Regions from separate parts of the Homo sapiens genome. Here all the other regions are linked to region 2. Evidence: promoter capture Hi-C in 16 types of primary human blood cells and fetal thymus (Javierre and others, 2016). All regions are on one chromosome and are shown on one strand. Each heading gives the region's core, a stretch centred on a gene start or on the middle of the fragment in contact. The rest is flanking DNA. Distances are from core to core; before and after follow the strand shown.

Region 1 (7,088 bases), core at 1,669-4,168, 530 kb after region 2:
TCCTCTCAACAGCTTTGTGATAAAGCCCACTTCACAAACGAAGAAACTAAAGCTGAGAGAGTTAAGTAGCTCGTCCTAGGTCATGGGATTAGGAAGCAGAAATATTCAATTCTCAAGTTCAGGAGAAAGGAAGGAAAGTCCGTGACTCTGAAACACACACAAAGGTGGAAGGTCCAAAGCTAATGTTTACTACTTTCGCTTAACAAGGGTGTGTAATGCAGCCACTATGCCTAATACCCCGAAGGTAACAAAAGGGGCCGAGCTATAGACCTTGCCCTTGGAAACATTTTTAGTCTACTTTGGTGGTTCCCAAACTGTGCTACACATTGGACTGATATGAGGATCTGTGAATGTGTATACTAATGCCTGCTAGGCCCCCAGAAAGTCATATTTAAATAGTTTGTATGAGAGTGTGATGTGGGCATCAGGACTTTCAAAAGCTTTCCAAGTGATGTTAAGGTGCAAAGTCTGGGAACTGCTGGGCTAGCAGGAGAGTGACACTGTCATACATTGATTGTGAAGCAGGAGGTACATCCATGTGGCATTGTGTGGCTGGGTTATAATTTCCGCAAGAATTTTCATAATTCACTTGCCATTGAAGTCAGGTCAGCAGACCCTCAAATCTGTTCTTTTGTGTTTTCCTCACTTTGCTCTGGATAGCACATTACTTTGATTCACAAAGCCCTGGGCAACAATCAGTATTTTGGTTTCTTTTCTTCCTGCACAAGGTTCAAGAAAGAGCTTTGGTTCACCTGGGTTTCTGTGGTCTCGCCCTGGCTACTCCCCTTCTCTCCTCTGTTTCCCCTTACCATCTAGCTCGCTTCCCTGTTTCAGCTTTTGTTCTCCATTTTCACTCGTTTTTTTGCTCGCTGAAAATTTCTCATCATTTACTACTCCTCATCTGTCACTCATCTATCTCCCTGATTAAAATTTGACAAGCTTAGTGCTTAAAAAAAATGCAACTTTTTTTTTGAAGGGAAAAAAGCTCCAATGTCTTTTGTGTACTCATTTGATTAGGAAATTTCCACACATTCTGCCCTCCTTTCTACAAACTCGTATTCCATTCACCTGTGTCATTTCCTGTGCCCCTGTTTGGAGCTGATCACCTAATTATTTTTCATTCAGTATCTGTTGATCACTCATCCTGTCCAAAGCACTGCTATTCCTCTTTGAATAGCAGTTTTAAACTTGTTAGGGAAATGCAGAATTCCCCTTGCATGTTACCATTACTCCATTTGGTGTTTAACTGTACTGAACATATTGAAAGGTTGAAAGAGACATTACTATTTTGGTTATTTATCTGTTGCCGAATGTACATGAAAAGATGTAGCTTTTCTTCCAATGTTCATCAACAGCAGATAGTATTTTATGGCTATGAGATTTTTAAAGCAATTACAGCTATTCATTTACATTTTACTAATTGTTAAATTTTACCAATTTGGACAACGTTAGAAAAATACAGAGGAGGTTTAAAAGAAAGCCATGAGGAGATAGGAAAAAGAAATACTAGAGAGTACAGAATTAAAGTATGAAATTAATTCCAAATAAACATCACCAATAGAGCTGCAGAGATCAAATAGAACAAGAGGAATAGAGACACATACTTAGAACTATACAGAGAGAAACAAATTCTTAGAACTAAGCAAGTAGGTAGGCATGGGCTAAGGTTAAGTAAAACACCAGAAATTGAAGATAAGAATGGATGAGTGAGAAAGAGAATTAACATAGAAATAAAGAGTTTACTACTTACAAAGGTATATACGCCAAAGGAAAAGAAACACAGGAGTTAAGTTGTCCTGGTCCTAGTTATAAAGGCGCAAACTCGCACTTGTTAATAAAGACCATTGTATTCGAAAACCTGGTTGAGGATTATTCATTCTCGGTAGAAAGAACTTTCAGCAGTTTGACAAAAGTAGAATGCAGGAGTTGCTTTTATAGAGCCAGAAGATGGCACTGTTGTCAATGTTTGCAGGCAGAGAATAACGAATTCTTGTTATTCAAGCTGGTTTCTGTACGGTTTAGCCCAATAGAATGCCCTTAAAGGAGGATTATGTGTGGATTTTTATTCTATAGGTTTTCTATAAAATACAGAAAAAAAAAACCCAAACCAATTTGAAACTCAAGAAAAATGATGCATGATCAATGTTTTAGATCCATATACCTGTTACTTATGGTCAATATAGCTGCATCTTCATATGGGCATTCTATTTTGGTTAGGTTTTTAGTTTATTTTCCCCATAATGAGCAAAATCTATTTCTAGCTAATTTAGGGTAAGTGATGGATTAATTGTATTACGTTTCTAAGTTAGTATTATTGGAAATCCATAGACATCATTGTGTTGCTATTGTTTTAGGATGTTAAAACTTCTGCTCTGGTTGTGTATTACCAACCATGTTTTCCAGCTGTGGTGGCTTATCTTACTATGATAGGATTTATGTATTTATTATCATGCTTCAGACAAAAAGATGTACAAGGAAAAACATTTTGACTTCATTTAGAGTAAATATGAAACAAGGCAGGTCTCACTGTTGAAATTTCTTTATAGTAACACATTTCTTGGTTTGTTCTTTGCAAAATTTTGAACAATTAAATAAGTATCAAAAAAGTTAGTCTTGAGGAATAATTCCTGGACCTGAAAAGGAGGCAACACTGCAACTCTCACCCTAAATCTTTCCTTTCCTTTAACTCTCTCTCTTTCTCTGTGTGTGTGTGTTTGTGTGTGTGCTAGGACTGTTGGTGAGGAGAAAAACTGGGGTGAGGTCAAGGTCAAGAGACAGAGTAGAAAGACAATTTTAGCTTTGGCTATTTTAATTTCATACTCAGCGCTGAATTTAATCACTTTTTTATCAAATGGAATTCTAAAGCTATATTCTGAAGAATCACATTATGCTTAAAAAGAATATATTTGAATGTAATTTTGAAAAATTAACCAGTAATTAAAAAAATAAGAACACATTCTGCAATGCCTATTTAAAAACTTTTTAAGAATTGCATTTGGTGTTCTGTTACATTATTAATCCAGGTAAACTTCCTGCATTTATTCACACAGGTGGGTACATTTCATCACAACCACATATGACTCAGACTTCTAAAAAGTAAAAACATGACATTTTTGGTTAATAATTATTTCAGCAACATTTCCCGAGCATCTTTTATATCATAAACAACGTGGATCCTGATTCAGCTCTTCTGGATTCCATAATAACAGATGGATTGCGAGACTGTTTACTGCTGCTTCCCACAAACTTCCTCTTTGTAAACTACTATATTATTTATGAATCAGAAAAGTTTCAAAGAAGCCTCCTATCTGATTACTGCTTACTGATGAACTTGCATCAGAGAAACTTTTAGCCCAATTATCCCAGTTTGTTACAAAGAACTGTTATTATTTCAAAGTCTGAATTTGTTAACTGGTTACTATGCCTGCTTCTTTGTGCCATTTTACTCACAAAGTCCTTGTCAGACAGATTGCAGTAACTCTATCCTCAGGAAACAGGTCATAGTGAATATATCGGCACTGAAAAATGAAGGCAGACTAATACCAAGTATTTTATAAATAGTATTACCACATCAGGCACTTTGAGATCTATTTGAAATATGCTTTGGAAAATATTACAAATGATTTGGCTTTGAACTGATTTATATTTATCTTTGTGGAAAATCATATCTAGGTTTGTGCAACAATGCAGTCATGGAGTTTGTAGACATTTTTGGTCACTAAACTTGACACTTGTAATTGTTGGTTTGAGTGTCATGCAGGAATAAATGCTGAAACATAATGAAGCTGCAGTATACCTCTTTAAAGTTTATTTGAGCCACCATGACGGGCCTGATCCATTCTGATTTTACAATTTACTTTAGCAATAGAAGCAACGTTTCTTTTCTGTGAGTGTGTGAAGTGGGCACAAAGATACCCACACTGATAGGTTTTTAATTAGACTCAAGAGAAAAGGAGACAAAACCAAAGGCAAACAAAACAAAAATCTCCCCTAAAATGAAGGCCTGCGAATAAGCCTAACCTTGCCTTCCGATTTCCACCCTCTGTGCTACATTAACGCTATGCAACAAGATTATGATTAATTTATCATGACCTTGATAAGAAACATATTTACAGAAAAATGTGGTCAATTACAATTGTTCTTGGGCTGAATCTGAGCTAGTTGTGTGTGTGTGTGTGTGTGTGTGTGTGAGAGAGAGAGAGAGACAGAGACACAGAGAGAGAGAGAGAAAGAGAGAGACAGGACCAGTGATGTCATCATCCTATCAAAAATATAATTGTAAATACCCTGATTATGAACTGAGCAAGTTCTCACCCTGCCCCTAGATGCTGTCCTCACCGTTGACTCTCGCTGCCCGCATGGGGACCTAATGCTGCGGCAGAGCAGCTGCAGAATCCCTGCATGCCGAACTCAACCAGGAAGAAGCCAGTGACAGATGCCTCTGCATTTTATGCAAATAACAACTTCATGGATCAGTTTTCCTTTCCTCTATGGAATATAAGCATCTGGAAAATAGAATTCCAAGGGCCTTAGCACATTAACAAATGAACAGAAATGACCAAACCACGCAGGTATAACAGGACTGACCTAGAATGTCAAAGAGGAGTGTGTTCATTAAAGCCCTAGTTTTATTGTAATTCTTTCCCACTCAAACTGGGTGCTTTTCTCACTTCCTAGTACTTTCTTTCCATAAGTCTGTAGTAATTGAAAAGTATATTGTTTTATATCACTGTCTCCCAGCCACTATCCCATCGTTTTAGAGTACATGTAGTCAGAATAAATAAATCAACACGTTGGTTGAAGATGTGTTTAAAATGGTTCTAAACAAAAGCAAAAACAGAACAAGAACATTCTTCCTCAGAAAAAAGTTATTTTTTCAAAAGTAGAACTAAGTTTCAAAGCTTAAGATTTTAGATATTTGCAGTTAAATAATTACTATTTTTTTATATTGCTGTGCCACTTAACATATACTTATGAAAAATCATAAGCTTTATAATTAAAGATGCAGCAAACATTTATGTATATTCTGACATTCAGCTTCAGCTTCTAAATGGAGATTACTACTATTTCAATACATAAATAATTTTATAGTACTCTCATTTGCTTTAAGAAGGCTTTCACATTATACCTAATTTTATGTAAATGTTATTCAGATTTCAATCCAAGAGTTTTGTAGGGGAGGTTAAAGGGTGTTTATCTTGATTTGTTAAAATGCACCATTAAAATTAAGCAGTGACAAATATTATGACTTTTTAAATTGTTCTAAATGGTTTTATTTGTTTATTAGTTTTGTGTTTGTACAAAATATTTTAACTCTTTAAATGTAACCTAATTTGATGAATTGTTCAAATAGGAGGTATACTCAGCAAATAGATCTGGTAATCTCATAAATTCAAAAATTAGCTTGTATTCTTAGTAAACCTCCTTTATGAGTATTGTTTAATGAAATGAAATGATATATGTCACATTTAGAAAAATTAATGATGATGAAAATCAATACAAAAAGAAAGCTTTGATTATTTTATATTCTAAAAGGCTACCCTTTATGAAATGATCATAAAAATTTGTGCTTAAAATGTATTTATTGAACATACTTTTTTAATGTTTGGGGAGAACATGTATTTATCTAGAGTAATCACAAAAGAAAAGCAAATTGACAAAGAATATTTCACTAGTTTGTTTTAAAATACTTCTGAAATTGATATTTTAAGGAGAAAAGGAAATAGATCAGAAATGTTTCTTCATAAAAGTAGGATTATTATATTCCTACATATTGCTTATGAAAAGTAATCAGCAAAGAGGGTATAGATAAGGCATGGCTCTAAATGAAACCTTAACCCAAAATTCAAAAATCCATTTCAGAATCAAGTATTAATAAACTTCATTTTAGTTTCTCATAAGTGCAGCTGCATTTTCTGTTTAATTACAGGTTTTCAACAGTAGTCATTTTTCCTTGACCTACGTACTCAATCTCAAAAGTCAGAAAATTGCTTCTTTTTAAAAACTGACAATGGCACGGTATGTTTCTAAAGAAAAAAGACAAATTACAGAAAACCATTAGTTTAAGCATATTTAAATAGCCAGGAAGAAGTTCTAATAGAAAACTTGGTGAAATATGAGAAAAAGTTATGAGTTGTTTTTATTGCATGGCATAACATAAATGTTAAGATATTAATATTTTCTTTTTTTCTAAAAGTAAAGTAAAAAAATTTGTTGTATAATTGTAAAAAGCCCAATGCATTAAAGATGACTGGTTTTTTGCTCTTGTAAAAGGGATTCTTTACAATTGTAAATTTATGGAGATTTGATCTGCAGCCTGTGTAGTAGATGAACAGGAAAAGTCATTTTAAAAGTGAAAAATTTAGCTTATTAAGAGATGTAGAATAAAATAGTAAGATAAGTAGAGAGCAGAACATTGGCCTTTGAAAATGTAATAAGATTCATCTTATTTACCCATTATTTACTGACAAATCGAAGCAGAAAACATATTTTTAATTTAAATTGCTAAATCACAATAAAGAGTGTAAACATTCAGGTTTACTTTTAATGAAAAACAAAATAATCTCCCTTATTTAATAAAATAGATTCTCAACCATAGAAGTGAGGAGATGGGATTTTTGTTTATTTGATACAGAGATTTTATGTTTTTGCCAAATTGTTAAGCCATCTTTTGTAGCTTGTGAATTATTTGTGGGTTAGGGCACAAGTCATTGATTGATGACAGAAAGAAAGATTTAATGAACAATTATTCACTATTCAATTTTCTTACTTTTATCACATTAAAAAACTTTTTTGTATGTATTTATTGAGAGTTCCCCTGATTCCTTAGATGGAATTAAGCAAATTGCATAAAATAAGTCAAAACTGGCAAAAGAATATTCTTTCTAAATCTTAGTTATTAATAATTTCCTTTCCATCATTTGTGATACCAACACATTATGTCTTCACAGTCAAAAGGTGGTTTCAATACCCAGGTTAATTAAAAGGGCCAGGTTATAGAATCTGAATCATTGGTACCACCGAGATCTGTTGAGAATAATAGATCCAGCCAGGAAGCCAAGGGAAACTTTTAATAAAAATCAGAGATG
Region 2 (6,768 bases), core at 2,872-5,371:
GACACAGGACTTTTTTGGTGATCAAATCCTAAATTCTAACATAGAAAGTGCTTTGCAAAGAATAGATGCCTAGGAGGTTGCTCAGGAATCTGAGATAAGAGTTGGGGTAAAGAAATAGTATTTCATAAAAGTAAGTTTTTAAAAAATAGAGTCTCTTTTGAAAATTATAATAATCAATTATTTTGGCTATTGGAATATTAGGCAAGAAAGTATAATTAGTTCTGGTATGGAAGAGTATGGAGCTATGAGACAGAAAACTAGGCTTCTAGTCTCACTCTGTCACTATGTGGCTAGCAGCCCACAGCAAGTCAGTGAGGATCAATTTCTTTATATCTGACATTGAACAGTTTTTAATGCTTTATGTAACCTACATGCTGGTTGAAAAGATTCTTTATAATAAGATAATTCAAAATCTGTTAATCATTATGCAAATATGTTATTTTATAGTTGCACAAAGAAATAATTTCTGAGAAATAAAGACTTCTAATGAAAAAATACACTTTACTGCATGCATAAATAGGTACCTTAAAATCAATTCCTCCTACAAAGATGCGATTAGGGATCACTGTTCCATATCTTGGGGCACTTGTTGGGTTATTCAAAGGCACAGGTGACACAGGATTAGGGGATGGAGATAATGAATCTGTTTGCATCTGGTTTGATGTTTGCTGTAAAATAAAATTCTTTTACACTTTTTGCACTGGGTATAATGCAGTCTGCTTTTGATGCAGACCAAAAACATATATTTTTCAAAAAGAAGAGTCATTTAGGCAAAATATAGTATTCTAGGCTTTACTTTTAATATTATAAAAATTATAATTAGAGCTAAGAGCTTTTTAAGGCAACAGAACTAGGAAACACAGAATCTACTCCACTATAGAGATTTTAAATATTAAATATATTACTTAAAATGCTTATATTATTATCAAACCTATTACTTAATTATTAAGGGGAATATTAAACTCATGAACATGTTTGAGAAAGAGAAAACAGTCCCAGCCTGACACAATCAACTACACCCTGGTGTTGTTAGGAGTTGGCCTGGCACTCACAGCTAGGCTGTGGTGTTCTCTTGTTAACAGAACACCAACATCAGACAAAGTCACCCTGTGACTCTGATGGATCAAGATTAAAAACAAGACCACTCCATAATCATGTTTGAATGCTGACAAAAACAAAGGCATTGCCCAAACCACAAGAATAACCAAACAACCCTCCATTCTGGCTGATATGAGTGACTGCTCCTTCTTTATCAGCTATAGTTTTAGCCTCGATCCATTTTTCTTTCCTTTTAGATAAAAGTTAACACATCCAATCATAGAATTACTACCATTTCCTGACGCTATACATTCCAGAGTAAAGCCCTACTTCCTTAAACCCTCTCTAGAAATTGCTCAACAGAAGCCTATATCCTGTAAGTTCTAACACCTTCTGATTGAGAGGCCCCATGGTTTATGTTTTCCCTTGTTTGAACAATTAACAGACCCAACTTTACTAAATGACGCATGTGTTCCTGGTGGTCTTTAACTAATGGTCATCGACAAGTTAATAAACTCTAACATTCACATTCACCATTTTCAGCCTGAAAGTCAAAATTTTAAATGCACTTGTCAATTTGAAGATTGGACTGATTTTGTTAAAAAATTATATACTTGTAGCTCATAAATGTTTATTCCAAAGAATTAGCTCAGTACATATCCACATGTTCACAATTCTAAGTTAGAGGACATAATTTAAATTTTAATAAATATATATAAATGTATAAGCCTTTGCAGAATGGTAAGATAATAGACTTTTAAGGTATAACTGAAAAAAAACCCAAGACTTGAGAATCACATTGAAGAGAAACCAATTCAAGAACTGGTGAATTATTTTCCATCTGGAAACACTAAACACACTTCTGAGACAAACCCCATAATATCCTAAAGACAAACCCCATAATATCCTAAATGTGTGCTTCAAAAAACTTGAAGTAAACTGGGTGTTGTGGCTTGTGCCTGTAATCCCAGCTGCTTGGGAGGCTGAGGCAGGAGGATTGCTTGAGATCAGGAGTTCGAGACCAGCCTGGGCAACAAAGAAAGACCCCATCTCAAAAAGAAAGAAAAAGAAAATAACAAAAGCTTGAAGTTCATAATTCCAATTCTCTGAGAAACAAACTCATGAAAATGAATCTCCAGCTCAGGTAATAAAGTTGTTCTTTTTCAAATTTGTTCTGCTCTTTCTTCTCTGGCCAATACAATCACAATCCCTAAATTAATCTTTGCAAGATGTACAGAGAAATGACTAGGGCAGGAGTGGCAATTGGGCTATAGGCTGGACCTTATGGGCTCTCTTCCCCATCCAGCCTTAAGGAAGTATGTACTCCTAATAAGGGAATATGTAAATACTTCTTTTAAAACACAGAAAAGCCACCACATTTAATAATTACTATGTTGTAGTTTCCAATGAAAGAAACTGGGAATCTAATCTTAACAGCTTTCTCTCTGGGCACTTGGAGGTTATTTGTGACTTCAGTCACTTCGCTCAGTAGGATATAATGCTCAGAATGGGTAATTCTGGAATGCTTAGTATTTTTCAACTATGGATTTTGTATTGCTAGAGATAATATAACAGCTCTAGTAGATGTAATCTTGTCTTTCTGCCCATTTGTTTACAGTGTCAAAATTACCTATTTGCTAAATTTAAAAAATCATTCTTCATGAAATTCTCTTATTGAAAATAAGATGTACTAATATGTTCGCAAGTTTAAGTAAAAGACAAACCCCATTATATTTCATTGAGAGAAGGATGAAATGAACGGAAGTAAACAGTGCTTTATTTCCAATCTCGAGAAACTAAAGGATACTCCCTGAGAAAAGAAAAACAACCTTTCACACTCAATTCACTTCATTCTCCTCCACTCTCTAAGGCTCTATTGTGGGCTCGCTCTGCTTAAGTTTTCTCCCTCATCATTTTCTAACATACGATATAGTTTACTTAGTATGTTTATTATCTGTCTCCACTATTATGTAATGCACCAGGGCAGAAGTTTTGCTTTTTTCATGGCAGCATCTAAAGTACTGACAGTACACAGCAGGTGCTCAATAAATATCTGTTGAATGACTAAAAGTGAATCATTTCTTCAGGAGAGACCTGCTCATGATATGCCAAATAGGCTGAAGGCTAAAGAATACAGTATAACAGCAGTCTAATACATATATATATATATATATATATATATATATATATATATATATATATATATATATATATTTGAGACAGTCTTGCTCTGTCGCCAGGCTGGAGTGCAGTGGCGTGATTTCGGCTCACTGCAACCTCCGCCTCCCTGGTTCAAGAGATTCTCCTGCCTCAGCCTCCTGAGTAGCTGAGACTACAGGTGCGCACCACCACGCCCAGCTAATTTTTTTGTATTAGTAGAGATGGGTTTTCACCATTTTGGCCAGGATGGTCTCGATCTCCTGACCTCGTGATCCGCCCACCTTGGCCTCCCAAAGTGCTGGGATTACAGGCGGGAGCCATCGCGCCAGGCCTACAAAATATTTTAATGTTAGCAATAGCAAGGCTCAGGTGGAGGCAACATCTAAGTTCATTATAAACAATTAGCGATGCATTGAGTTAAACAACAAAGAAAGCCTGAAATTCCACTAGCAATAATTCCGCATGTGTTACGGAAACACCTAGATGGGGACTGTTGCCGGGTTTGAAGGCTCCTCCGTTTGCTAAAACTTCCAGCACTAGAGAGTTTATTAAACTACTCCTCCAAAGCAATGTGCCCTCACTGGCCCCTCCCCTTGAGAATCAACCTCGAGATCTAGCATCTATTTTGCAAACGAAGACAGCAGGAACGGGCGGGCTAACCGTCGCAGTCACTGCCTCGGCGCTCCTCCCCCTCCAAGGCCAGCAAGTTGCGGCACTGGGGGAAATGGCCGCGGCGACAACTTCCTCGAGTTCTCTCGGGTCATCGTGAACTTGGGCACCGAAACGAGGATCCACCCCCTCCCCACCAAAGTGCGGGAGGGAAAAGAAGGCTAGCCAGCGAGAAATTTTGCCCCACAAATCCGCCAGCAGCAGTGGCGGGAAGCCTCAACGGCAGCGACCCCGCCGCTGGCCTCGTGCGCAGCTGGTCCCCACCCTCGCGCGGCGCTCCCTGATTGGCTGCTGGCGGCGGGACGGGGCGGGGCGGGATGGCACGTTGCCGCTGCGCCTCGGGCCTGTGCGGGCAGTCCTCCTTCACTTCCCCAAGTCCACCCTGACTGGCTTGGGTGCACAGCCAGGGCTAGAGTGTCCGGGTCCCGCCTGGGCCACAGGCGGGCCCTGCCAGGTCTCTCAGACCTTCCGGTCCTCGCTGACCAGTCGGGGAGTGGAGGCGTCGACCGCCCTGGCAACTCCTCGCCTTGGGCGGCTGGGTCGAGTTCGGCCGCAGGGAGCGTCAAAGACGCTGCCTAGCCCAATTTCGGCGGGAAAGCGGTTTACCTGCTCGGACTTCGCTGGGTGCCTGGCAGCCCGCCGCCTCCCGAAACATCCACGCCTGAGGTCCCCTGGCCCGTCTACACCCAGTCCAGGCCCCGTGGCGGCGCCTTTCTGACCCCCATGACACAGCCAGACGAGGTCTGCGGGCGGGTGGCTCCTGGCAGCGGTCGATGGGGCACCTGGCCACGTTTCTTCCCAACCAGATAGCGAGCGTTTGGGGCCTTCACCTCGCCCCTCCAAGCCCTCAGGGACAGGCTCCACGCTGCTCCTTCTCCCCGCTATCCCGCGCCCTGGGGCCCTGATCGCCGTACTCACCGGCCCGGACTCGGTTTCCATCTTCCTCTCTGCTCTTCAGAGACGCGGGGTAGGGAAAAGAAGCCTAAAGTTTGAAACCACCTTCACGCCAAGGCAGCAGCGCTGCTTGTCCTGCCTGGGACTCTCGCCCCCTGGCGGCGAGGGTGGCTGTGGCAGCTGCAGGGAAGCAGGCTCGGACCCCGGCCCTGAACCTGCCACCTGGCGGGTGGGGAGAAGCGGACTGCGTCGCCTCGGGTGGCAGGTGGCGGTGCGGGCGGGCGCTGCAAGCCGGAGAGGGGCGCGGGAGGGCGAGTTTCGGCTGTGGCCCTGGGACTCCGAGCCGGGGCGTCTCAGGGGCAGAGCGCACGGCACAGCGGGGCGGGCGTGGGGCGTGCGGAGCGAGGGCTCGGTTCTGGGACCCCTCTCGCCTTCTCTCAGACGGCTGGGGAGGAGAGAGCGAGCGGTCAGGCAAAGCTCCATGCACGCCTTCCCCTCTCCTCCACTTGAGAAGAGTCGGCCTCTGGGACTGGTGGGTTTCGAGAGGTTGAGGTGACCTTAAGGCTTTACTGAGGTAGAAGAAGCCGGTTGACGGGCGACTTCCGAAGACTGGTGTAAAGCGAAGAAGGTTCTAGAGTCAAACTCTGACTCTCGGGGCCTGACTCGCAAAACTCGGGGGCTCCCGAGAAGCCGCGGACGCCGCTCTGCACCTGTTGCCGCCGTCACTCATCCCGCCAGGCGGGCGGGGCCGCGCGGGTGGCTTGGTCAGGACCTGCCATTCAGCCCAGTCGGGCTCCGGTGCTCGCCCCGGACGGCGCCCCAAGCGGGTCCCGGCCCCGCTGAGCACCTCCAGCAGTGGCACAGCCTCTGGAGGGGTCCGGGACGAAGCCACCCGCGCGGTAGGGGGCGACTTAGCGGTTTCAGCCTCCAACAGCCTTGGGATCGCCTTTGGAAGAAGATTGCGCTTTTTTTCTTAAATTAATGAATTAATTTACTAATTATTTTTATTTTTGAGACGGAGTCTCGCACTGTCGCCCGGGCTGGAGTGCAGTGGCGCGATCTCGGCTCACTGCAACCTCCGCCTTCCGGATTCAAGCGATTCTCCTTGTCTCAGCCTCCCGAGTAGCTGGGATTACAGGCGCCCGCTACCACGGCTAATTTTTGTATTTTTAGTAGAGACGGGGTTTCACCATGTTGGCCAGGCTTGAACTTCTGACTTCAAGTGAGCTGCCTGTCTTGGCCGCTCAAATTGTTGGGATTACAGGCTTGAGCCACCGTGCCCGTCCAGTTGACTAATTATTTAGACACGAAGGCTCACTCTGTCGCCCAGGCTGGAGTGCAGTGGTGCGATCACGCTCACTGAATTCTCGACCTCCTGGGCTCAAGCGATCCTCCCACCTCAGCCTTCTGAGTAGCTGGGACCACAGGCAGGCCCACGCCACCATGCCTGGCTGAAAGAAGACTGCTTTGTAAATAATACGTATTTCTAGTAGGTAGCTAAAATGATTACAACTGGATAAACTTATAGTAATGATTATCATTATTATAGCTGCCATTTATCAAGTACTCACTTTGTTTCAGGCACAATGCTTTATGATCAGTATCATTTAATCTTTTCATGCTCACAGCAACCTTTCAGATAGATGCTCCAATTATCGTCATAGTACGTGATGAAGCAGAGATTTGAAGGATAAGTAATTTGGTCAAGATCTAAAGCTGTAGGAGGTTTAACCCTCGTCTCCCCCCCAACCCACAGTTCTTGATCATAACCATTTTGCCACATATTTTTAAAGAATCAGCAGTAACAACTGTTAAAATTTACACCAGTAATAACTATTGTACACACTACTATAAAAGTTTGACTTTGGGTTACTTTGCCTTCAAGATATAGAATTAAAAACAGAGTGAATATATTAATTTTTGATTTATTCAAAGATTAGCTCTTCATATTATTTTACCCAAAATAAAATGGGAAACAATTTTTGTTTATCTTACCCGAAGAATCCC
Region 3 (7,097 bases), core at 1,929-4,428, 510 kb after region 2:
AACTCCACTCACAGTTCCACAAATAACTGCCCCACTGGCCCTTGGGTCTGGGGTCACAGTTCCCACCCACCCTGAGACGGAACTGAGGATTGGACTTGAACAGACCCTGGAAGCTGGCTTGGGTCTATCTGAATGGGAAACCTGAGTTCTGAGTACACAGTGTGTTCTACAAGTGGAGAGCTCAGTAAAGATTGGTCAGGACCCATGTGCCTGTGTCGGAGGACCACAGCGATAGTACCAGCAGTGCTAGTAGTACCAACTTTCCTTGCTAGGAATGGAGGGAGGAGGCAGGGCTGTAGACTGCTGCCTTTGAGCAGGGGTGATCTTCTTTCTAGAGGCAGTGTCATCTGCAGGTAACCTTGCAGCAAGGGAGCAAAGGGTCATAACCTCCCTGTGATACCAAAACTTCCTATTGGCTACACCCAGCCAGAATCCAGAGGGCTTGAGGGTTCTCATGATGGGGCTCTCCAGGCCAGAAAGCAGGCAGAGATGTCAGCGGAGTGAATCTGGGGGTGCAAAGTAAAGATACCAAGCACAGGATGCATCTGTGAAAAATACAGCCCTGGGTCCTGGACCTCACCCACAGTCAATGCTTTACCAATGCCAGTAAAAAAGAGTTTGGCAGTGCCCATGGCCTTAATGTTGTCTGGGCCTCAGGGAAAGTTCAAGGGGAGCCTGGAATCTGCTTGCCCTTTGACTTTCAGGATTTTTAAGAGTTGAGCACTTGAAGCTACTGGGAGGAGAGGAGAGGCACAAAGGTAATTAGCTACAGTGTTAATGGATGTTGTCACTTGCATGAGTCCTTGAAATAGTTGTATATAGGACATTGTTTAAAATTACTGTATGACTTTTCATTATTTGTATGAGCACATTGCTAATTAACACAAGTAATCATCCATACAAATGGATATTTATTGTACACCTGTTTTGTGCAAGGCACTGTGCTAAGTCTGGTGGGGATGTTCTGTGCCCCAGGAGCTTAGAGTCTAGATTTGGCTTCCAGCTCTCTGATCCTTCCATTCTCTGAGATTCTCCCCATTTCCCTTCCCAGCCACCCCATCTTCTTAATTCCTCTGGGATCTAAGAAAAAATGAAATAGAACAGGAGATGGAACTAAAGAAAACTTCTCTGGGTAAGGTGGGCCAGCAGAGAGAGAATAGAAAGGAGATTTTTAAAAGGGGCAGGGTGGCCGGGTGCAGTGGCTCGTGCCCGTAATCCCAACACTTTGGGGGGCTTAGGTGGGGAATCACTGTAGCCCAGGAGTTTGAGACCAGCCTGGCTAACATGGCAAGACCCCATCTCTACAAATAAACCAAAAAAACAAAAATTAGCTGGGTGTGGTGGTGGGTGCCTTTAGTCCCAGCTACTCGGGGCTGAGGCAGGAGGATCCCTTGAGCCCAGGAGGTCAAGGGTGCAGTGAGCTGTGATCACACCACTGCACTCCAGCCTGGCAACAGAGCAAGACCGTGTCTCAATCAGTCAATCAATCAATGAATAAAAATAAATAAATAAAAAGGAAGGGAGCAAAGTGTCTCACAATGTAGTACCCAGGGAAGCAGATGGAGCTCTGGAAGGAGGAGGAGAGAGGTGATGAAGAAGACCATGAATTAGTGAAAAAAAAAAAAAAAAGAAAGAAAGAAAAAAAACATGTAGTAGGAAAGGAAGGTCTCACCTTTTGAGCATGCATTCATTTTTTTAAGTACCCATACACTGAATATCCTTGTCCTGGTTCACTGAAAAACATTGTTACTGAGCTCCTGCTGTATATACTGGAGGTCTCCAGTGTGCACAGATGCATCTCCCACAGATGCATACTACCTAGTCTCTCTGTAAGATTATTTTGATGGTCCCTGGAAGCAGTCTTGTTTTTTCAGGACTAAGGTGAAAGTAACTTAAAATTTGCATTAATCAAAATTAATGAAAGGAAATCCATGATGAACAAAATATCAACAATTTATATAAAGGCAATATCAATATCCTAGGGCTGAAACAACAGATCATTTATGTTCCTATCAATAGTGAAACTCATATAGATTTCTTATAATTAAAACAAAAGGAAGGGTATAGGGAAAGACACCAGCCAAGGCAGTCTTAACTATTCACAGTCTGCTCAGTTGTGCAGGCTCAGTTGAAACAGCTGGTCTAGGGTCTGTGGCCGCTTTAGGGATAATTCTGAGGTGGGTTCGTGCTGCCATCTAGTGGTCATATTGCATTATACGCCGTCTTCACTTCTGGAGGCTCTCTTGGGGGAAAACGTGATAAACCTGAAAAGATCCAGGTCAAGGAGGTAGACGAATGTGAGAAATTTTCCGGATTGACAGGTTTTTGGATGTAACCAATTATTTGATATTCTGGTTTTTTTTGTTCTCTTAAAATACGAATTGGAATCCTCTTATGTTTGAGGAGCTGTGCTAGATGCTGGATATGGTCTGGTGAATATGCATGACCATGTCTTTGTCCTGGGAGAGCTCCTTGAAAGAGTCCAATTCACCCACCAGCCCATTTCATTAAAAACAAAGAACCCTGGAGAGAGTTGGAGAAAGTAAGTGATTGGTTTAAAGTCACATAATTAGTTAATTGGGGAGTCAGCCTTAGAATCCAGCTGTGTAAGCTTTTCATTCTATACTGTTGTCTTCTCACCTTAACAGAAACTTGTCTTTAAGATGTTGAGCCAAGCATTTAAAAGTTACTCCTCCAAATCCTTCCTGAGAGGAGTAGTTGTAGCATATTTCAGATACAGCTGCATTTCTGCTATTAACTCTCTAGTTTAAGTTATAGCAAGCAGTGCTGCTAAGAAACTTACTGCATAAGTACGTAAGAGTCAAAGTGATACAAAATTGACAAGAGTCATCTTTGTTAAATGTAATTTACTTAACACTAGAAAAAGGGAAGTGATAACTTACCCTTCGTCCTTGTGCCAGCAAGGGTATCTTTTTTTTTTTTTTTTTAATAACTGAGCTGCTTCCCATTCCAAATTTCATTAAGACCCTGGCTTCAAGGGATCATCAATGATCCCTTCTCCTACTAATCTCTTGAAAGTAGCTTCATTTTTCTAGGTGCAGGGCACTATATGTTCACCAGCAATACTTCTTATATTGAGTTTTTTTTTGGTGGGGGGGGACAGGGTCTTGTCTGTCACCCAGGCTAGAGTTCAGTGGCGTGATCTTGGCTCACTGCAACTTTCACTTCCCAGGTTCAAGCAATCCTCCCACCCCAGCCTTCTGAGTAGGTGGAACTACGTGTGGTCCACCACTATGCTTAGCTGTTTTTTTTTTTTTTTTTTTGAGATGGAGTTTTGCTCTTGTTGCCCAGGCTGGAGCGCAATGGCCCGATCTCGGCTCACCACAACCTCCGCCTCACAGATTCAAGCGATTCTCCTGCCTCAGCCTCCCAAGTAGCTGGAATTACAGGCATGCGCCACCATGCCCGGCTATTTTTTTGTATTTTTAGTAGAGACGGGGTTTCTCCACGTTGGCCAGGCTGGTCTCGAACTCCTGACCTCAGGTGATTAGCCCGCCTCGGCCCCAAAAGTTCTGGGATTACAGGCGTGAGCCATCGCGCCCAGCCTGCTCAGCTGATTTTTAAAATTTTTTGTAGAGACGAGGTCTGACTATATTGCCCAGGCTATGTTGATGCTACTTGTTCAAGATAAAATAATAAAATCTAACAAGGCGAGATAAAAAATTTTGATTAAGTGCTAAGTGGCATACATATTTAATATATACTGTATTTAATTTTTATTATAAAAGCTTTCAAACATACACAAATATAAAGTTTGCAGTGAACCCCAATGTATCCATCACCCAACTTGCCGACATTGGCATCACTCATTTAGCAAGATTCTGCTGTATTGTTTTTTCTATCCTGTTTTTCTTCCTTTTTTTCTGAAGAATTTAAACAAATCACAGACACTTTACCCTTATTACACTTTACTCTTAAATAAAAAATTAAAATTCCTCAAAAATATGGTTCTTTGTTTATATATAGACAGTCATATGCTGTATAATGAGGTTTTGGTCAACAGTAGAGTGAATATATGATGGCAGTCTTGCACAATTATTATGGAGCTGAGAAATTCCTATCAGCCGACTTGTTACTGCCATTGTAGCATCATAACTCAATGCATTACTCTTGTGTCTGTGGTGATTCTGGTGCAAACAAACCTACTATGCTGACAGTCATATAAAAATCTAGCACATACAATCGTGTATAGTAAATAGTCCTTGATAATGAAAATAAATGACTATGTTACCGGCTTATGTATTTACTATACTTTCGATCATTATTTTGTAGTGTACTCCTTCTACTAATATAAAAAAATTAACTGTAAAACAGCATCAGGTGTGTCCTTCAGGGGGTATTCCAAAAGAAGGCATTGTTATCACAGATGACAGTTCTTGCATGTTATTGCCCCTGAAGACCTTCCAGTGGGAGAAGATATGGAGGGGAAAGACAGTGATGTTGATGATCCTGACCCTCTGTAGGCCTAGGCTAATGTGTGTTTGAGTCTTAGTTTTTGATAAAAAATTTTGAAAAGTTAAAAGAATTAAAAATAGAAATGAGCTCATAAAATAAAAATAAAGAGAGAAAATATTTTTGTACACTTAGACAATTCATTTGTATTTCAGGCTAAGTATTATTATAACAGTCAGAAAATTTTAAAAATTAAAAGGTTTGTCAAGTAAAAATGTTACAGTAAGCTAAGGGTAATTTATTATTGAAGAAAGAAAACAATTTTAAAATAGATTTAGGGTAACCTAAGTGTACAGTGTTTATAAAGTCTACAGTAGGGTACAGTGATGTCCAAGGGCCTCACATTCACTCATCATTTACTCACTGACTCACCCAGAGTAACTTCCAACCTGCAAGCTTTATTTATGGTAAGCAACCTATACAGGCACACCATGTTTTATCTCTTATACAGTATTTTTACTGTACCTTTTCTATGGTTAGCTATGTTTAGATACACAAATACTTACCATTGTTTTACAATTGCCTACAGTATTCAGTACAGTAACAGGTTGTACAGGTTTGTAATCTACCAGCAACAAGTTATACTATATAGCCTAGGTGTGTTGTAGGCTATACCGTCTAGGTGTGTGTAAGTACACTATGATGTTCACACAATGATAACAGTGCCTAATGACACATTTCTCAGAAGGTATGCCCACTGCTCAGTGATTCATGACTGTATATATATGCGTACACACACACACACACATACACACACACACACACATATATATATATGAATTTCTAGATCTATATAGAAATTGGCTAATGCATGATTATGGAGGCTGAGAAGTCCCAAGACCAGCAGTTGCAAGCTGGAAACCTGGGAGAGTCAATGTATAGTTCAGTCTGGAAGCCAGCAGACTCAGGATACAAGATGAGCTGATTTTCAGTTTGAGTCGGAAGGCAGAAAAAGAACAATGTTCCAGCACCAGAAGTCAGGCAGCTTGAGATCACCGTATTTTGGGGGAGGTTCAGCCTTTTTGTTCTATGTAGGGCTTCCACAGGTTGGATGAGGGACACCCCCACTGGGGAGGGCGGTCTTCTTTACTCAGTCTACTGATTCAATGTTAATCTCATCCAGAAACATCCTCACAGACATATAAAAAAAAATTTGACAAATGTCTACACATCCTGTGGCCTAGTCAAGCTGACATATAAAATCACCTGTCACAGTAGTGTCTACCAGATTTGTCTTCTACAGGTGCTGTTTCCCTGGGGGAATGAATGAGGATTCCGTGTGTGATATTCTGTGACTGTGTCAATGTCCTGCTCCCCAGCATTTTATCCAATGGAGTCATAGAGCTTAAACTGCTAAAAGGTGCTAGAAAGTGCTTGGGTTAGTTGAAAAGAGATAAATAACTTCCTTTAATGTTAAGAACTTCCTACAGAGTCCAGTTCAAGGTCAAGATCCAGACTGGAAGGCTAAGGGTCAGAGAGCGATATGAATCTGACAGAGTGACAGTCTTGAGCCAGGCAAGGGCAGGCATGTGGCTCTCCCGACTGGTGGCCCATGCTCATGGAAACCCAGATTTGAGGAAAAACTGTGGGAACTTTCAGGTTGCTCTTCAAACTCTCCCCAGAGCAAGGGTGCCAGGGCTCCTGAAGAGAAGGTAGGAGAGGGTGGTTACTTAGCTCAGCAGGAGTCTGAGATGGTGAATGTAGCCCTGGCTTCAGCTTGGAGAACTCTGGGACAGTTCCAGGGGAAAGGACTGTCACTCTGCTGCATAGTGACATCTTGTTTTGCAAATAAGTGCATTAAAGGGACTGGTTCTGGGCTTTCCATCTCTGTCACTGTATGCATGGAGCCTGGGAGGTGGGACAGATCTGTGGCAGGAGAACAGGGGCCAGGAACCATCTCCTTGTCCTGTCCTATTCATCCTCAGAACTATAATGGACCCCAACAGAGTAACCCGCCTTTGCAGAGGAACGAACTGTCTGAGCACTAGAAGACTCTTTTTTTTTTTTTGAAAGAAGCTTTTTTCCAGAATTCCTCCTCTCAAATAAACTTTGTTGTTGTTACTGCTGCTGTTTTAAGACACTATATAGGATTTTTAGCGAATCAGTGTCACTCACACTTCACGTTACGGCCTTCTGAATGTCTATTTCATCTTAGGTGATTTACATATCCTTTTTTCCCCCTTACTACCTCACATCCACTACTGTACCTTCCAGTTGCCTCCAATTTTTCGGCATTTTATACATTTAAAATAGAAATGTCACACCTTTTATTTTATCCTCACAATAACAAGGAGATATTGTTGCCAGTTTATTTTCTGTAAACTGAGGCAAAAACAAGTAAAATAACTCATTGAAAATTCCAGAGCAACAGCCCAGTTTTCCTGAACATCTGTCTTGTGAGAGGCACCCACAGCTGTGTCTCTGAGGGGCATCTTCATATTTTGCAGACTAGAAACTTCCATTATTGTCCTTTACTTAGGCTCAACAGGACTCAAGTTACTTTTCTAAGCAATATCTTTTTCTTTTCTTTTTTTTTTTTTTGAGACAGACTCTTGCTCTGTCACCCAGGCTGGAGTTCAGTGGCATGATCTTGGTTCACTGCAACCTCCGCCTCCTGGATTCAA
Region 4 (6,501 bases), core at 3,594-6,093, 590 kb before region 2:
GTAAGTGGCACGATGGCAGTTTAGGGAAGAAGAGGGGGGTGTTACCAAGCTCTTATTATTGAACTCATCTACATTAAACAAGACCCCAGCATGCAGTAGAAGGATCTATATAGTGTGATGGAAACACAACCAAAAGAACAGCTAGCTCCACTTGGGTAGGAGGCTGGGTGAAGACAAGGGTGTATCCAAAAAAGCTTAAGGAAGGCACCTTAATGAATAAATATGATTTGCTGACAGGGAAGGAAGACAGAGGAGGTACAGGTGTGCAAAGGTGTGGATGTGCAAAGAACCTGATATGTTACTGACCAGAGTGTGGGGTAAAAGAGGAACAGTGGCAGGCTTTAGGGTTGATGTTGGGCTTGCCTGCATGGCAAAAAATGCTATTCAAAGCCAGTCTCACACTTGCTAGCCACATGCAAAGCCCATTTCTACATGCAACTTGGGGGTGAGCATGATCATCGCTGCCTAACCTCCTCATGGGATTGTTATTAGGATCAAATGAGGTAGTACATGAGAAAATGTCCTCTAACCAGACAACCCTACATAGATGTTTTCATTAAGAAATGTTTCACGATGACAAGATGGAGTAGTTGATAATTTTCTTTTAACCTTAAGATCCTTGGTAATTATGCACACACACACATTCACCCAAAATTCTAGAAATATCTTAGTCCTAGTAGTCGATTAGATGACAGCAGTTTCCCCAATGTGTCTGACCATAAGAATCACCGGAGATGCCTATTAAAAAAAATAGTCCCAGATCCCTTTCCTAAGGATATAATACATTCAGGGTGGGGACCTGCAAATCTAGATTTTAACAAGTACCTATCAATTCTTAGGAACTGGTGGCAAGCACTGGCCTCAGGTGAAATCACTAGTGTCACATACCTTGACCTCACCCTGTGATCTGCTGTTGGGAATGTGAGTTGTCATTTTCCCTATAAACCCTCTTTTCTCTTTTTATCCTCCTGTTGGCTTTCTTACAGGTTATGTTGCTGTTTATTGCTAGTTTGGGGGACCAATATAAGTACTATCAGTAAGACAGAGTAAGATTCCTTGAGGAAACACTATGTAAAAATGTCAAGGTGCAGAATGGATATTTCAATATGCCAGGAATTTGTCCATGGGTTTCTCCTCTGCCATAAAAATTCCCAGCAAATGAACATATATCTCTTTTTCTTTCTCGAAAACACCCTCTCAATTCTGCTTCTTGACAAGGTGTATGGATAGTTTCTGAAATTGCCAACAATTAAGTAGCAGGAAAGAAGTCTTGAAAAGAATACAAGTTTACTGCTAGTTCAGTCTTAGCTACTTACTCTGCTTAAAGACAGGCAGATCCTTCCACACTCCCCCTAACTACCTGCTAACCAAGTCTCCGTTCGGGTTACATCTGCCCCGTGGCAAGGACCACATTTCACACAAGACACAGAGCCAGACACAAATTCAGGGTTTCGACAAAAAAAAATATTGAATCTTGTTTATCTGCTCCATAATTCTCCATCTGCTGTGCTCATGGCCAAATGCTCATGTGTGCATTTCTGCCTTTTTGGACCTTAAAAGAAAACAAGCAACAAACCTCCACAACCAGAGAACGATAAGTAGAGGCAGTGTCTGACAAGATTTTCATGTTAAATCAGGAGTAGTCAATCAACAGCTGAACAGTTAAGATTCCGGGGAACAAACCCAACACAGTAGTTAATGCACCACTACTTAGTCACTTTAAGGGAACATAATGAGGTGAGCAGAGTCTCCCAGTTGCGAGTGTACGGAATACATACATTCTGTTGCATTCACTCCGTCCTCACACTTCTGAAGAAAGGCAAGCATTCCAAGCTATGGCTGGAATGTTACCAAGGAGAGGCATCCCAAAAAAGCTTCCAGAGAAGGGCGCCAGCACAGTCCTCAGCAGGGAGTGGTGCCTCTGGGACTAATGCTGCTAAAAGCTACTTTATAGAGAATTGTCAAGGCACAGAATCCCCAGGAGCCATTAGGAAGAAGAGGCTGAGCTATCATTATAACTCTTCCAATACTGAAGTCACATATATGCATACATATGCACCTAGGTACATATGCATACCTATCTACACTCAGGCATGCATGCATAGAGACACATGTTGAGTCATACACAAACCCCTTCTACTTCCCGTGGAATAAAAAAGCAGCTGTTCTCCACATCCCAAAGCCTTGCTATATGGACATCTCTAGCTCAACTGTGCCATGTGGCTACTGAGACATCGCCTTCACAATTATGAATTTAAGCATCATGGGATTTCAAACTAGAACTTCACAGATAACGTGCTTTGCTTCAACTGAAGCTGTGTGTTTGTATGGATATAATTACTGAATGGAATGCATAATGATTCTTGAGCAAGTAATATTTATTTTTTAAATATTATGACTGCTTCTTCTTTTTTTCTCTCCACACTCCCAAAAACATTCCCAGAGAGCACTTTGGCACTCCTTTTTGTTGGAATTTTAATGAGATCCTGCTGTTTTATTTTTCCCCAGGTAAACACTTAACCTAAGAAAAAATATTGGGGAAAAGATATATCTAAATACTATATTATATGATGTTTAAGGCAAAGAATATTCTAATTACAATATTCTTGCTCATAAGTATTAAGGACATATATTCTGTTGTTCATTAATTTGGCAACCATCATAACTTTTGCAGCTTTTGTCTTAACTTAAATAAGGCTTAGAAGCAAAGTCCTACCTGCACAAGAGCAGAGTCCCAAGCCTTGGCATATACAGATATTTCTTTTTAAAGTTTCACACATTTTAGCACTAGCATATATAACACGAGTGCTTTGTGTACAGTAGGGTACAGAGTTGAATAAATACAAAATTGTAACAAGGGTCAAAATTGAGAAAAACAAATAGTGGTAGGAAAAAAGGAGATTCAGATACCATGAAATCATTGATCATCATCCCCTAAAGAAATTTAAATTCCTAAGAGAGGTATGCAGTCTTTTTAGCTTCAATTGCTAGAATTTTCTTAGCATGCTTAGCAGCTGCAAAATGATTGTCAGTGCTGCAGATATTGGTGCAGTGCCTCTGGTAGATTCAGAAGACAGAAGGACACTTCCTGGGCCAAATTTACCAAAAGCACAAGTGGGATTTGTTGTTCAGATGGGACCTGTCCTTGCCTTCAAAATCACCAACAACTAGCCCCCTACTACCTTTCCAGGAGTGTTGACGGCTGCCTTCTAGAGGTGAATGTCTGCCAAGCTGATGACACTTGACCCCTCTAAGATAGAAATGGGGAACAGAAAGACCCCTTGATCTTATAAATTTTGTAGCTGAACTTGCTAACCCTTGGAACTGAAATCTAATCAGCCGAAAGCCACTTTCTCTACCCACATCCCCTATCGGCACATCCAATAAAATATTCTGTTTTTATTCTCACCCTGAAAACAAACTGGGAAAATACCAGACTTCCAAAAATAAAATGCTAAATCAAATATGTACTAGGGATAGTTATTCTCAAACTTTGAAGTAGAGTCAAAATTCCACTAGGGGGAGCAAGATGGTAATTTGTTACCTGGGAGGTAAAAGCAAAGGTTCAGGATGTGTAATTAAGGAAGTAAGGTAATTGAAAAATCCACTTCATTAAAAACATAAAAGAACTCAAGCTTCTGAAAGAGTTCTTAGTCATAAGTAAACATGCACACCATGCACATACTAAAACAAACAAACAAAAAAACACCAAACACAAAAAATTCCTATTGATCCCTGAGGATCCAGGTTTTAGAAATAAGAATAAAACTATCTAAAACCTACGTGCTAAGGTATCATTTTCATCATCTGTGAAATCCAATTCAATTATTATGTCAATTCCATGAAAAAAATATGCTACTGATGTCATCAGACACACCCTCCATTTAAGAATGAAGCCCATCATGGGTTCTACAAAGAGAGCCAAGCTAGTTTAGAGTATCCACTCCATCCGGCTATGAAGTCATCAATGCCCTCCCACATCCCGCAAAATCCCCTAATGAAACCACCATTTTGATTTTTGCTAAAACCACTGTATAGTATATTTCACTTTCCCTTTGCCAGAGTTGCATGCTCTGTACTAATGAATTGGCTTTGGAAGATAGGCAGAGTGACAGAGGCTGTCATTGAGCATTGGTAACTACAGTCAATGGTAATAAGCCCAAGCAGCATCCAGGGATGCTCCAGCATTTCATTCTAGATCCTGGTGTGTTGCTTGTGTTTTTCTGATTAGATCGGGAAAATAAAGACTCCAAGTCTAAAAGAAAAACATTTTGCATTCCAATCAGAAATGGGTGTTGGGAATCAATCAATAGCCAAGAAGGAAAATTTGATATTCCTAAACATCTGTCCCTCCTTGAGCATTCTGAGTACATATGTCATTAAAGTAAGATGGGAGTGTGTTATCAGTAGCTGATAGCTGATACAGCAATAATCTAGCCATATGAAGCCATCAACTTATATGAACAAGCTGAAACACTTCGTTAGGTAACAACTGTTTTTTGTAGGAGCCAGTGCTTGCACTTTTGTGAAAGGATAATAAAAATTTGTTCAAGTCACTAGATTTAATGAACAAAACCTGCTAACTGAATTCATGTGAGTTCTGCTGTATGATCTCCTGCAAGGATTTCATTGAGTTCTTCCTGAATATAGATCACCCTTTACTTGAGAAGTTCACTCCATCCCAGAAAGATAATGATTATCATAAAATCAAAATCTGTTCCTCTTAAGTACCATAAGGACAATACAAAAATATACTGAGTCCTTATAAATACATTTTTTAAAAAATCAGGGAGTGAGGCAGGACTGCATGTCTGAAAATGTCTCCTACAGGCTATGCTGCAGAGTAAATATATATAATATTTTCCATTACTATTAAAAACAGAAAAAACATAAAATTCCATGTTATAGTCATGCCCTCCAAGTAGCATATTTGTTAACTCTATATTTAACATTATGAAAAAAGAATTACATCTAATTAGAAAATGGAGAAAATTAATTTATTACCTAATCTTTTCCCAATGAAAATAACACATGGGTACTGACTATGAAATAGTTACTCAAGGACCAACTACCCCAATTACCCAATTTTTGGAACATTTAATCCTTTGTTGCTCCTTCCTTTCCTGAGATTCTCTTTGGGTGTTTCTCTGCTCTTTAATACCACTAGTTATCACCCTCACCCGATGGCCAACCCAAAGTAAAACAAAATTCAACTTTGTTACCAGTTACAGACAAAAAGTTGGGCCAAAGGAAGTGATGGAATAACAGTATCAGTTAAATTGAAATCTGGAGGCAATGTTAATTTTTATTGATTAAAATGTTAATTTTTATTGACCTCCTTTTTTTCCATAGTAGAAAGATTAATGCTATGGTATCAGACTGACCAATTATTAAATCCAATCCATTTCCGTTTCAGTTTTCTCATCTCTAAGATGGGGTTACAATAGCCATTTTATAGATGTGTTTAAAAAATAACGTAACGGCCAGGCGCGGTGGCTCACACCTGTAATCCCAGCACTTTGGGAGGCCGAGGAGGGTGGATCACGAGGTCAGGAGATCGAGACCATCCTGGCTAACACGGTGAAACCCCGTCTCTACTAAAAATACAAAAAAAACTTAGCCGGGCCTGGTGGCGGTCGCCCGTAGTCCCAGCTGCTCAGGAGGCTGAGGCAGGAGAATGGCGTGAACCCGGGAGGCAGAGCTTGCAGTGAGCCGAGATCGCGCCACTGCACTCCAGCCTGGGCAACAGAGAGGGACTCCATCTCAAAAAATAAATAAATACATAAATAAATAATAAAAAATAACACAACATATGCAACACCCCCAGCACGGGGCCAGATGCCTGGTGTGCACGCAATAAAAACAGGGATGATTGTTTACCTTAACAAGCTCAAAAACCTTCATAGACAAGTACCTTTATGTGCATCCTAAAAAAGGAAAAATAAGAGATCTTGAAAGATTTCCTAAAATACTACAGAGTAAATAAATTGAGTTAGGATTATAACCCACTCAACACCACCTCTAAAGCAGAGGGGCCCATCATATTGGGAGAGAAGCTTTTACAGGCCTGGGAGCAAAAATCAAACTGAGCATGACTTGGCCTTTGTTACACTCAGCAACCTCGAAATTGTCACACAGTCCCTCTGTACTCAGAAGTCTAATCTATAAAGCCAATAACTCACTGAACTAATACATCATTTCTTCTTGACTAATCAAAAGGTAACTGCATATATTCATGCCAGCTTAATGGGACCTGAGATTGTAATTTTACTACTTAAGGTTGTCATAAATACATGTAGTTACACCTTTCTTTTGTGATCTCCTGATAGACACAAAGGAAATGAATTCCCTGTTTGGAGCTGTGACGAAGTCTAATGATTTGCCTGTTAGTGACAAAGTTGAGACTAGAACTTAGTTTTCCTGATTCTCGCAGCTTGGTACTTTCTCTCACATGTAATATAATATATATATAATTCATGATCAGAATTCAGCTTCAGTTTC

The links. Contacts are between HindIII fragments. The CHiCAGO score rates a contact against its expected background, and 5 or more counts as called.
Region 1: a fragment that was not itself captured here is called in contact with the fragment with the promoter of BOLL in region 2 in 3 of 17 cell types (M1 macrophages, M0 macrophages and non-activated CD4 T cells); the score reaches 7.8 in M1 macrophages.
Region 3: a fragment that was not itself captured here is called in contact with the fragment with the promoter of BOLL in region 2 in 13 of 17 cell types (M1 macrophages, M0 macrophages, M2 macrophages and 10 more); the score reaches 20.0 in M1 macrophages.
Region 4: a fragment that was not itself captured here is called in contact with the fragment with the promoter of BOLL in region 2 in 1 of 17 cell types (erythroblasts); the score reaches 7.7 in erythroblasts.

What each region holds. Positions count from the first base shown.
Region 1 is chr2:198,312,810-198,319,897 of GRCh38, forward strand. All of the region lies in intron 2 of LINC01923 (long intergenic non-protein coding RNA 1923), which reads right to left. Among named protein-coding and RNA genes, the nearest start is that of LINC01923, 59 kb to the right of the region's middle. The HindIII fragment of the contact is 3,962 bases long and covers 938-4,899 here.
Region 2 is chr2:197,781,198-197,787,965 of GRCh38, forward strand. It overlaps BOLL (boule RNA binding protein), which reads right to left and starts at 4,122. Exons shown (of 11, transcript NM_033030.6): 1 at 3,859-4,122; 2 at 525-668. The coding sequence starts at 653. RefSeq lists an enhancer at 5,298-5,527. The HindIII fragment of the contact is 5,410 bases long and covers 2,119-6,768 here.
Region 3 is chr2:198,294,671-198,301,767 of GRCh38, forward strand. It overlaps LINC01923 (long intergenic non-protein coding RNA 1923), which reads right to left. Exons shown (of 3, transcript NR_110267.1): 3 at 4,693-7,097. Among named protein-coding and RNA genes, the nearest start is that of LINC01923, 77 kb to the right of the region's middle. The HindIII fragment of the contact is 1,138 bases long and covers 2,610-3,747 here.
Region 4 is chr2:197,188,117-197,194,617 of GRCh38, forward strand. All of the region lies in intron 1 of ANKRD44 (ankyrin repeat domain 44), which reads right to left. Among named protein-coding and RNA genes, the nearest start is that of ANKRD44-AS1, 6.6 kb to the right of the region's middle. The HindIII fragment of the contact is 2,421 bases long and covers 3,634-6,054 here.